2 separate regions of the Homo sapiens genome follow, and region 1 is linked to region 2. The links are contacts of gene promoters, found by promoter capture Hi-C in human tissues and cell types (Jung and others, 2019). All regions are on one chromosome and are shown on one strand. The core of a region is centred on a gene start or on the middle of the fragment in contact, and the rest is flanking DNA. Distances in the headings are between cores, read along the strand shown.

The links. The method cuts DNA at HindIII sites, captures the fragments that hold promoters and counts their contacts. A contact is called where the count stands out against the background at its distance.
Region 1: a fragment that was not itself captured here is called in contact with the fragment with the promoter of CBR3 in region 2 in 3 of the 25 tissues and cell types used here (IMR-90 fibroblasts, lymphoblastoid cells and mesendoderm cells).

Annotation. Positions count from the first base shown.
Region 1 is chr21:36,363,229-36,369,248 of GRCh38, reverse strand. MORC3 (MORC family CW-type zinc finger 3) reads right to left here. Exons shown (of 17, transcript NM_015358.3): 14 at 4,990-5,156; 15 at 1-261. Among named protein-coding and RNA genes, the nearest start is that of CHAF1B, 19 kb to the left of the region's middle. RefSeq lists a silencer at 4,296-4,472. The HindIII fragment of the contact is 3,820 bases long and covers 648-4,467 here.
Region 2 is chr21:36,130,701-36,136,328 of GRCh38, reverse strand. It overlaps CBR3 (carbonyl reductase 3), which reads right to left and starts at 1,250. Exons shown (of 3, transcript NM_001236.4): 1 at 848-1,250. The coding sequence starts at 1,136. CBR3-AS1 (CBR3 antisense RNA 1) reads left to right here. Exons shown (of 3, transcript NR_038893.1): 3 at 3,255-4,562. It also overlaps the pseudogene MEMO1P1 and the pseudogene RPS9P1. RefSeq lists enhancers at 276-445, 281-1,087, 1,088-1,895 and silencers at 596-765, 1,196-1,265. The HindIII fragment of the contact is 7,591 bases long and covers 1-4,043 here.

The DNA of each region.
Region 1 (6,020 bases), core at 1,308-3,807, 230 kb before region 2:
GTGCTTGTTGAACCAGTCTGGCCACAAGGTTCACTGTCACCCACAAACTCAACCTGAACACCACCTTGCTCAACGTGACTCTGTTCTGATTTCATGTCAATATCATGATCTACTGCAGGTTTGGGGGTACTGTTTTCTTCTAAGATGATGACATCTTCATCATCATCATCACCTTTATAAACTGAATTTTCAAACTGACTACTCAATCTCCGATTCTTTGCATTCAAAATTGAGGAACGAGTAGAAAGTCTCCGTTTCAAGCTGAAAAAAATTTTATACATAAAACATAAGATTATAAAATATGGACAAAATAGATGACCTTGAAGTAATCATTCTAACAAATGCAGTATTGTAACAGTTTTTTTGTTTTTTGAGATGGAGTGTCACTCTGTCGCCCAGGCTAGAGTGCAATGGCACAGTCTTGGCTCACTGCAACCTCTGCCTCCCAGGTTCAAGTGATTCTCCTGCCTCAGCCTCCTGAGGAGCTGGGATTACAGGCACCCGCCACCACGTCCAGCTAATTTTTATATTTTTAGTACAGATGGGGTTTCCCCATGTTGCCCAGGCTGGTCTCAAACTCCTTGAGCTCAAGCAATCTGCCTGCCACAGCCTCCCAAAGTGCTGGGATTAGACACATGAGCCACTGTGCCCAGCTATAAGTTTTGCAATACTAAGAAATACCCAGGCTCATTTTTTAAAGTGACGCATTGTATAGTACCAATCACTGATTTAATGAAGTAGAGATTATTTTCTCTTTTTACAGATGAAGACGATGGACTATTGAGATCTCTTTGAAGTACCAGATCTATTTACTGCCAAACATCTCTGCATTTGATCACCTCCAGGCATTTCAATGTACACATTTCCAGAACAGAATGCTACCCACCCCGGCCCCTTCTTTGTATTCTTCAGCTCAGGGAATGGCACCACCATTTTCATTTGCCCATAATAATTTTTATCAGTAATCAGTGATCAAAGATAAGCCATAAAGCAAACCAGTATTTATCCTTTCATATGAAATAATTTTATCTGAATTAAAATTGCCCCAATTTCTTCATTTGCATCATTCCCTGTTCATTCATGTTAATATGTGCATAGTTCACATTTATTTATCACCATTTGATTGCCTTTTTCCACACTTGGAGGAATATTTGTACTGGTTTGCTATTTGGGCCTTGTGTTAGACCTCCTAGATCTCAGGAAGGATTTTCCTCTTTTTTGGACTGTCTCATATTGGGCGAGCACAGCCTGCAACAGCATCTTAATGAAGGGTACACAGAACATAACAAACGCAAAGTTTTGCATGATGAAAACATCTTTATTTCTCTCTCAAGTCTATTGCTAGCTTAACTGTTATATAGGCTTCCGGGTTGAAAAATTATTTTCTCAGAAATTTAAAAGCATCATTCCATTTTCATCTGCCATTCAAGTGTTTCTGCCATTCTAATTCCTCATCTCTTGCCCGTACATAATCTGTTTCTTTCTGAAAAAATCTTTTATTCCCTGCGTTAAAAAAATGTCATGATCCTATGTCTTTGAGTGGCTCTCCTTCCAGACATTATGCTCTGTAGTTAGTGGAAATGCAGTTTTTCTGGTATGATTTCCCATTCTGGAAGGCAGCTATGTTTGCTACACCATACCAGTGCCTACGTCCCATTCTGAAACTCCCTTATTCAGATGGTGGCTTTCCAGCACAGATACTGTATCTTTTCTTCTTTCTCTATCTTCCGACTGTTAAGCTTTTCATTCTAAATGATTTATTTATTCAAGTTTACATCACTTTCCCCCAATAAATTTCACAATGTTTTCTTCTATTCCCTTTGTTTCAGTCTGCTGTCCCATGTGGGAGATGACACATGTGGCTATCCAGGGCGATCTGCGTATACCTAAGAGTGAAACTGACTAGCAGTAGTTAGGGCTGAGCTTGTGATTCAAAGGGTGCTCAAACTGCCATCATCATTTAGGGCTTCTCTCTTGGAGCCCAGTGAGGAGGGAAGGGTGGATTTCTGACCATTCAGTATCCAAACTTTCCCTTACTCATTCTGTTTCAAAACAATGGCTCATGTACATCTTCAGCAGTAAAAACTGCTCCATAAAGTAAATTCCCTATCTTCTGACAGAGGCAGAGAAAGGGCACTCACCAGACTTTGCAGGTTGGAAAGAGGTCTCGACTTTAAGTTTCCAACCAAGCCTCTGGTTCTCACCCCTATCTATCTTCCACCTTCAGCAGTCCCCAATGCTTCCAAGTTAGGAGACTTTCTAGGGACCTGTGGCGTAAACTGGTTTCTACCATCCTCCAGCAGCTTAGGTTTCAGCTTCCCTTGGTTTGCTGTATCAAGTACTTCTTGCTTACTCTGCCCTGTTTAATTTGGAGTTACTCTATTCTTTTTCTTACCAAGCTCATTCCTATTTATATTTCCTAAGACTTAGATACACCCTTTCCACAAACTTTGGTTTATAAATTTGAGAATACGGCTTTAAAAACTGTTTAATAGGCCGGGCAAAGTGGCTCACGCCTGTAATCCCAGCACTTTGGGAGGCCGAGGCAGGCAGATTGCCTGAGCTTAGGAGTTTGAGACCAGCCTGGGCAATATGGTGAACCCCCATCTATACTACAACACAATAAATTAGCAGGGCATGGCGGTGTACATTTGTAATCTCAGCTACTCAGGAGGCTGAGGCAGGGGAGTTGTTTGAACCAGGAGGCAGAGGTTGCAGTAAACAGATTATGCCACTGCACTCCAGGCTGGGTGACAGAGAAAGACTCTGTTTCAAAAAAAAAAAAAGTTGTTTAATCAAAAATTTCCCTCTTTATTCTTGTCTTCCATTTTGATGACGGCCAACTTTTAAAAAATTTTCTTTGCAGCCATAAAAAAGAAAGAAATAATGTCCTTTGCAACAACATGAATGCAGCTGGAGGCCTTTATCCTAAGGGAATTAAGGCAGGAACAGAAAACCAAATACTTCATGTTCTCACTTATAAGTGGGAGTAAGTGCTAGGTACACATGGACATAAAGATGGGAACTATAGACACTGGGGACCACTACAGTGGGGAGAGAGGAAGGGAGGTGGGCAGGGCTGAAAAACTACATATTGGGTACTATGCTCAATAGCTGGGCGATGGTATCATTCATACCCCAAACCTCAGGATCACGCCATATACCCATGTAACAAACCTGCATGTACCCTGAATCTAAAAGTTAAAATCATTAAAAATACCTTTAATCTCTTATCTATAAACTACAAAACCATCCTTACAAAGAAAAGCCAAAAATGTTAAGGAGAACTGTAAAATATGAGTTCTTAATAAAGTAGCAATCCAGCTCCAAAATGAGTGTCCAATACACAGGTTATAAAGAGCAAACTGGCCGGGTGCTGTGGCTCACACCTGTAATCCCATTACTTTGGGAGGCCGAGGCGGGCGGATCACCTGAGGTCAGGAGTTCGAGACTATCCTGGCTAACACAGTGAAAACCTGTCTCTACTAAAAATACAAAAAATTAGCCAGGCATGGTGGTGCGTGCCTGTAACCCCAGCTACTCGGGACGCTGAGGTGGGGGAATCGCATGAACCAGGAGTCGGAGGTTGCATTGAGTTGAGATTGCACCATTGCACTCCAGCTTGGGCAACAAAAGCCAAACTCCGACTCAAAAAAATAAAGAAAGGAAGAGCAAACTATTCTAGAATATGCCCTCTTTGATTTATATATGCATAAAGGCAGTTAGTTATTTATAATCTTCCTTGGGGTCAAAAATTCCTTTGAGAATTTGATAAAAGTTACAAAACATCTCAAAAAAAATCTGGCCCCACTATCTTAGAGAAGCTTGTTTCAATGTTCCTCTTCGAATAACAAACATCAGTATAGTCAGTGTGATCCACTCGTTTGTAGACATCACATTCATTCTTCTTCACTTGTCTTCATTCTATTAAATTGGAAGAGGCCATCTACAAGACTACTGTTTTCAGAACTTCAGGAACCAACGTAAGTACCACCTCATCACAAAGCCTTCGCTGATCAATCCAGTCAAGATGGCTAACTATTCAATTCATGCATCACTTTCTCTTTGTCCCTTCCTTCTCCATCCACTCCTCCAATAAATTAAGTGCCTACAGTGTGCCATAGGCTTTGCAAAGAACTTCTGGGTCACTATAGTGTCGTACTGTTAATTGCTTCATGTTTTTTTTTTTTTTTTTTTGAGATGGAGTCTCGCTCTGTCACCCAGGCTGGAGTGCAGTGGCGTGATCTCGGCTCACTGCAACCTCCGCCTCCCAGGTTCAAGCGATTCTCTTGCCTCAGCCTCCCAAGTAGCTGGGATTACAGGCATGTAACGCCACACCCACCTAATTTTTATATTTTTAGTAGAGACGGGGTTTCACCATGTTGGCCAGGCTGGTCTCGAACTCCTGACCTCAAATGATCCACCCACCTCGGCCTCCCAAAGTGCTGGGATTACAGGCGTGAACCACCGCGCCCGGGCTGCTTCACATTTTTTTAAGTCCTGATCATCTTAAAAGCAGGAATTGTCATACTATATAGAAATTCAAACAGGTGAGAATGCGATCAAACTCTACAATGAATACAATTAATGCTTTTTTTTTTTGAGACGGAGTTTTGCTCTTGTTGCCCAGGCTGGGGTGCAGCCTCAGCCTCAGCCTCAGCCTCCGCCTCTGGAGTAGCTGGGATTACAGGTGCCCGCCACCACGCCTGGTTAATTTTTTTGTATTTGTAGTAGAGATGGGGTTTTGCCATGTTGGCCAGGCTGGTCAATTAATACTTTTTAACGAATTTAACAGGTGGCAGAAGTAGGGTTTAGCCTAAGTTTAGACAATAAAAGCAAGACAATTTGTCCTGAAGATTTTCACATTCATGGAACCTACAATTCACAATGGAACCTACAATGATCCCGAATTGCATCACTGTCACAGAAGTGTCAAGTAAAAGCTCTGTTTAATATTCCCCAAATGGAAAACCAATCTTAGCCACTGACCTGTTGCTCTCAGGTTCAGACTGAGGTGGAACTTGATGATTATTTAGAAGTCTTGTCGCATAAGAATTTGTTCCTTCTGAAAGATGTCTTCTTGGAACACTTTCCTTAGGAGAAGAAAAGCTTGGAGTTGAAAGAGCAGTTGGCCGAAACAACAGTTCAGCATTAATCTGTTGGAGGGAAAAATCATCACCTTAAAGGAACTATTTCTAGTGTGACATGCCCAAAACACAAGATATAATCTTCCTCTTCCCCCTTATCCCAGAAGACACAAAAACAATTCCAAACATGTAAATTCCTTGTGCTATACCAGGAATCAACAAGTAAACCAATGAACTAAATCCAGCCTGCAAGTAGGCTAAGAATGGCTTTGTATTTTTAAAAGGTGTGAAGAAACAAAGCAACAAAACAAAGAATATGCAACAGAGACTTTATGTGGCCCACAAAGCCAAAAAGATTTACCATGTGGTGACCTCTTTGCTACTAGACTTATCAAGACCCAAACTTCTCAAGCAAGAAGCACAACTGCCTACTTGCATTCAGATGGCCCCTGATTTACAATGGCATCAACTTTATGATGGTGCAAAAGCAATACCCATTCAGCAGAAACTGTACTTCGAGTACTCAAGCAATCATTTTTGTTTTGTTTTTCACTTTCAGTATTCAATAAAGTTCATGAGATACTCAACACTTTATGATAAAACAGACTGTCAGATGACTGCCCAATGTAGGCTAATATAAGAGTTCTGAGCACAATTAAGGTAGGCTAGGCGAAGCTATGATATTCAATAGGTTAAGTGTATTAAATGCATTTTTGATAACAATATTTTGTTTGTTTTTTGTTTTTTTGAGACAGAGTCTCAGTCTGTTCCCCAGGATGGAGTGCAGTGGTGTGATCTTGGCTCACTGCAACCTCCATCTCCCAGGTTTAAGCAATTCTTGTGCCTCAGCCTCCTGAGTAGCTGGAATTACAAGTGCCTGCCACCACATTATTTTTTATATTTTTAGTAGAGACAGGGTTTTGCCATATTGCC
Region 2 (5,628 bases), core at 1-2,500:
AGTAACTTTTTTTTTTTTTTCATACGGAGTCTCGCTCTGTCTCCCAGTCTGGAGTGCAGTGGCGCGATCTCGGCTCACTGCCTCCCAGGTTCAAGCGTTTCTCCTGCCTCGGCCTCCCAAAGTGCTGGCATTACAGGCGTGAGCCACTGCGCCCTCCTGTAATTTTCTTCAGTAGTAGTTAGAATAAGCAATCTCTTGATCCCCGCCCCTCTCCTTAAGGAAGATGCTTTTAAGACCACACGCACGTATTTTATAACAAACATAAGCTCCCCGGGCGGGGGTGGGGGAACGAGAAGGCTCGCTTCCTTTTTGCCAGAGCCTATCAAAGCTCTGCATTACACAAATTGTCAAGTCCACCAAGGGCAAGCGCGCGCTAATCCTGTTTTAGCGATTCATTTCCTTTCCCGAGCAAATGCCTCCGGGCATCTATGAATGCGCCCTTTCAAGGAAAGCGAAAGCCCAAAGCGAGCGGAGACCGTTTCTTTGCAGAGAAAATGTTTCTCGCGTTGGAAGGAAAGCTGATGAACTCTAGCAGGGCGTTGCCCCCTCCCAGGAGGCCAGTTTTCCTGCACACAACAGCGGCTGACAGTTCGGGGAGGGCCCCGGGCCGCGCACAGGCCCTCACAGGCCGGCGGGCGGGGCGCGCTGTTTGTCGCCCGGGCCCGCCTGGGGCTCAGCGAATCACGGAAAGCGAAAACCGCCTCGCGGGAGGCGTGGGCTGAGCGCATCCCTAGGGGTCGGCGCCACCCTCCTCGGTCACTCAAGTGGACGGGTGGGGAGCCTGCGGCTGGCCACCTCCGCACCCTCGGAGCGCTCCAGGGGGCCCCAACCCAAGCCCTGCACCTACTCTTGAAGGCGACGGCCGCGTTGTTGACCAGTACGTTGAGCCCCCCGTACTCCTTGCGCAGGAAGTCGCGCAGGGCGCGGATGCTCTGCAAGTCGTCGATGTCCAGTTGGTGGAAGCGCGGGCTCAGGCCCTCCGCCTGCAGCTGCTGCACGGCCGCCTGGCCCCGCGCCACGTCCCGCGCGGTGAGCACCACATCCCCAGAGAACTGTCGGCACAGTTCGCGCGCGATGGCCAAGCCGATGCCCCTGTTGGCCCCGGTCACCAGCGCCACGCGGCTGCAGGACGACATGGCTGAGCGGGGAGCGCGGGGCACCTGCGTGGAGGGCGGACCGGGCTTCGGACCACCTGGGGCGCGCCCCGAGGAGCCCAGCTAGTGTCAATGCCGCCGCGCAGACTAAGTTCTGGGATCCAGTGCTGCGAGTCTTAAAGAAAAAGGCCCCGGCTCCGGTCCCTCCCCTCCGAGGAGGGGCCGTCTGTGCCCTCTGTTCCAACTCCCGGGCCCGCCCCCTGCCCACGCTGCGCCCTTCAGGATCCGGGCTCTGAGCCGCGGGGTGATCTGCGAGGTGTCCGAAGCCAAATCGGACCTTGATGGGTCAGTCGGGGGCTCCAGATTCTTGGCAACTGGACTGAAGAAATTATTTTGGGAAAACCCCAAAGTGAGAAAAACAAGTGCTGAGTAATTTTCTTGGGTGTGCGCCCATCATGCACTGCAAAATGCGAATGTTTGCTTTTTCCTAAGATGCAGTGACTTACTTAGACACAGTAACTGCTTCTCTGGACATAGGTTGCCTTGCTTGCTTAAAAGGAACTCAAGAGAGGGAACTAGATGCCCTGTGAGCGCACTTAGCAGGTGTGGGCAGGCGACATCGCTCTGGGATTCCCAGTGAATGTGCCCCCAAGTGGGAGGGAATGTTTTTATTTAATCCTACCTAACTCCTACGGGTGCTAAAAGTGTCTGCATTTAGGTTTGTCCAGGGAGGATATAGATCTATAAAGATCTGGATTGATCATATGTTCTCACAGATCTGTGTACCGGCAAAGAAAGTTAAACCAAATTCCCAAAGGTGTGTCAAGCTGTGGGCACAAAATTAGAGTCTCATCCATCGTCTTCAGTGTAAACTGAGTTGTTTGATCAGTGACTTTGAGATTTGGGGAGAACCATGACATCATCACGACTCAGCCTTTTCCATGCAGAGCTGGCTAACCCGCCTGTGTCTCTGTTACTCTGACTCTACCTTCTCTCTCAAGTCCTTACTTGAGGTTCCGGAGGTGGGCCCCTGCTGTGATCTCCTACTGTGCCTCCCCCAGTATTTCCTTCTTTTTTCTCCTAAAGATCATTTGGTCCGGGCGCGGTGGCTCACACCTGTAATCCCAGCACTTTGGGAGGCTGAGGCGGGTGGATTACGCGGTCAGGAGTTCAAGACCAGCCTGACCAACATGGTGAAACCCCCATCTCTACTAAAAATACAAAAATTACCTGGGTGTGGTGGCACGTGCCTGTAATCCCAGCTACTTAGGAGGCTGAGGCAGGAGAACTGCTTGAACCCGGGAGGCGGAGGTTGCAGTAAACCGAGATTGCACCACTGCACTCCAACCTGTGCAACAGAGTGAGACTTTTCAAAAAAAAAAAAAAAGATCATTTGGAACCTTGTTTTAAGGATATGGGGCTATTTAGGCTTTCTATTTCTGTTTTTTTTTTTTTTTTTTTTTTTTTTAATAGGGTCTTCTCTGTCGCCCAGGCTGGAGTGCAGTGCTGCAGTCGTGGCTCACTGTAGCGTCAGTCTCCTGAGCTCAGGTGATCCTCCCCTTTAGCCTCCCTAGTAGCTGGGACTACAAGTGTGCCACAGTCATGCCTGGATAATTTTTTTTTTTTTTTTTTTTTTGAGACGGAGTTTTGCTCTGTCACCCAGGCTGGAGTGCAGTGGCACGATCTTGGCTCACTGCAACCTCCGAATCCTGGGTTCCAACGATTCTCCTGCCTCAGGCTCCTGAGTAGCTGGGATTACAGGCGCTGCCACTACACCCAGCTAATTTTTGTATTTTTAGTAGATACAGGGTTTCACCATGTTGGCCAGGCTGGTCTCGAACTCCTGACCTCGTGATCCACCCGCCTTGGCCTCCCAAAGTGCTGGGATTACAGGCGTGAGCCACCACACCCGGCCTGCCTGGATAATTTTTTATTTTATTTTATTTTTATTTGTTTTTAGAGATGGGAGTCTCACTGTGTTGCTCAGACTGGTTGAACTCCTGGGCTACATCGATTCTCCCTCCTTGGCCTCTCAAAGTGCTGGTATTACAGGCTTGTGTCACCGTGCCTGGCCTAGTTCTTCTTGAGTGACCTTAATTTCTGTTTTTCATAATTTTATTTTTTTAAATAAAGCATTGATCCTGTTTTATCATTTGGCAGGAAAACTAGACAATCCACCAGCCCAGGAGGGGACAAGCAGGCTTATTCCTCCTCCTCGTCATCTCTGGCTCCAGCCCCACCCTGGCCCTTGCTGGCATTCTTCCTCTTCACGTGGCTGGGGTTGGCCACCCCAATAGGGAAGCAGAGGGAGAAGTCAATGTGCTTCTGGGAATCCAGGCGGACAGTGAAGAACAGGATATTTACCACCTGCTCACGGACACGGATATGACACTGTTGAATCAGCACATGAGCGTGGCGGATGGACTTAGCCAAGCCAAGCTTGAAGACCTGGGTCTGTAGGAATCTCTAAGAAATCATTGATCTTCAGGCCCAGGATGTAATCCAGCTTCATCTTGCCCTCATCCAGCACCCCAGTGCGGACCAGCCACTGCAGCAGGGCAATGCCTTCGAACAGACGCCGTGGGTCCTTCTCATCAAGCGTCAGCAGCTCCCGGGCGGCCTTATGGATCTTGACCAGGGTAAATTTGACCCTCCAGACCTCACATTTGTTCTGGAGCCCATACTCACCAATCAGCTTTAGCTTTTGGTCGAGATGAGGTTTCTCGAAGGGTCTCTGCAGGGTCACATAAGTTTGGCAACAAACCCAGCTCTGGGCCGCTGGCATGTTGGCTCCACTTGCCCGTCTATGCCTAAGCACAGGCCCTGGTCACTGAGAAAGAGCTCAAATTTTTTATATATTTCATCTAAGGTGTTGATTCTATTGATACCCTTATCCTTTTAACATGCCCTTATCCTTTTAATGTTGGTAATGATGCTACCTGTCATTTCTGAGACTGGTTTGTGTCTTTCGTGTTTTTTTCTGATCTGTCTGGCTAGAGGTTTACCAATTGATTTGATTTTCCTCAAACTTCTGGTTACAATGATTCTCTCTCTCTCTCTTTTCCTGATTATATTAATTTCTGTTCTGATCTTTGTTTCCTTTCTTCTGCTTACTGGATTTTATTTGCTCTTTTTCTGGTTTCTTACTGTAAAGGCAGAAGTCATTGATTTGCATTGATTTGAGACTTCTTTTCTAATGTAGGCAGTAAGTGGTGTAAATTCCCTTTTAGTATGACTTTAGTGGCATCTCACATTGATATGTTTTCAATTTCATTCAGTTTATTTTTATTTATTTTTTAAATTATTTATTTATTTATTTATTTTGAGTTGTGTAGCCCTTTATTAGCAACTAAAATAGAAGGTATCTGTTGTACAACATGGGTAGTAATTGACTATAACTGGAGATTTATTATATTCTAATACAGATCATTTATAAATGCAATTTCTTTATTAAAAAGCTTCCACCTTTTTGTTTGTTTGTGTACAATTTGCAAAACTATTCTGAAAGCGGAATATATGTGCACAAGTCTGCAAAGAGTGCAAATTTAGGATATGGTAAATGCTTTACAAGTTACTTTCAAAAAACTGTCTGCCATAACTGAGCCTTTACATTGTCATCTTTTTTGATCAAAATATTTTGATGCCAGCCTTCCTTCCACTGCCCTAAACTATAAAGCATTTTTTAATGAGTTGAAATTAAGGAAGGACTACACCTACTAGAAAAAAAGAGAAGAAAGTTCTATTAGTTTGAGGTTTCAGAATCCCCCCAAACCAGGACCAGTATCGTGGTAAAGGCTAGGCTGGGAGCCCGGACAGAGTATGAGAATGTGCAGGTGGCATCCCTGAGGATTCAGAGCTTCAGTGGACCGTGAGTGCTCCAGCTGCATAACTCACTGAACTGTCTTGCCAGTTTCTACACTGGCTCGACTGGGCATAATTCAAAAACGAAAAACTCATATTCATTCCATTCTTCTGGAGCTCTGTGATAGCATTTAATAACACCCCAATGGGATGTCTTCCACATATAGTATTATGGTATTTCTTCAAGTAATTGCTAAAAGATACAGGGTCTAATTGTTCTATAATACTCATACCCATTTTATCTAGATGTTCAATGGATCTACAAATCTCCCCCTGGGATTCATCATAGTAACTGTGACGGAACCTTTGACCCCAATGGCAGAAATCAGAAGAAACCACAAAGAGATTACTAGGATCCGCTAGATATTTACTGAAAAGTTCCGAATTCCTGTTCTTTTGACTCAGAGCTCCAACCAGTAAAGGAATAATGGTAAACTCATCCTTATGGCTTTCCATGGCTTTAGCTGTATAAGGCAAATGCATTTCAATACTGCGTTCATCTTCATCTGTCTGCAGAGACATGCGTTCAAACATTCCTGTCTTCCATAGTTCTCCGTAAATCTTTTGGTCAATACGAAGGTCATACAGGGGTGTCCTATATATATCCACACTGGAAAGTGCACATCGAGAGAGGGGCACATGATGAGAAGGCCCAAGGATGAAAATTCTCCGG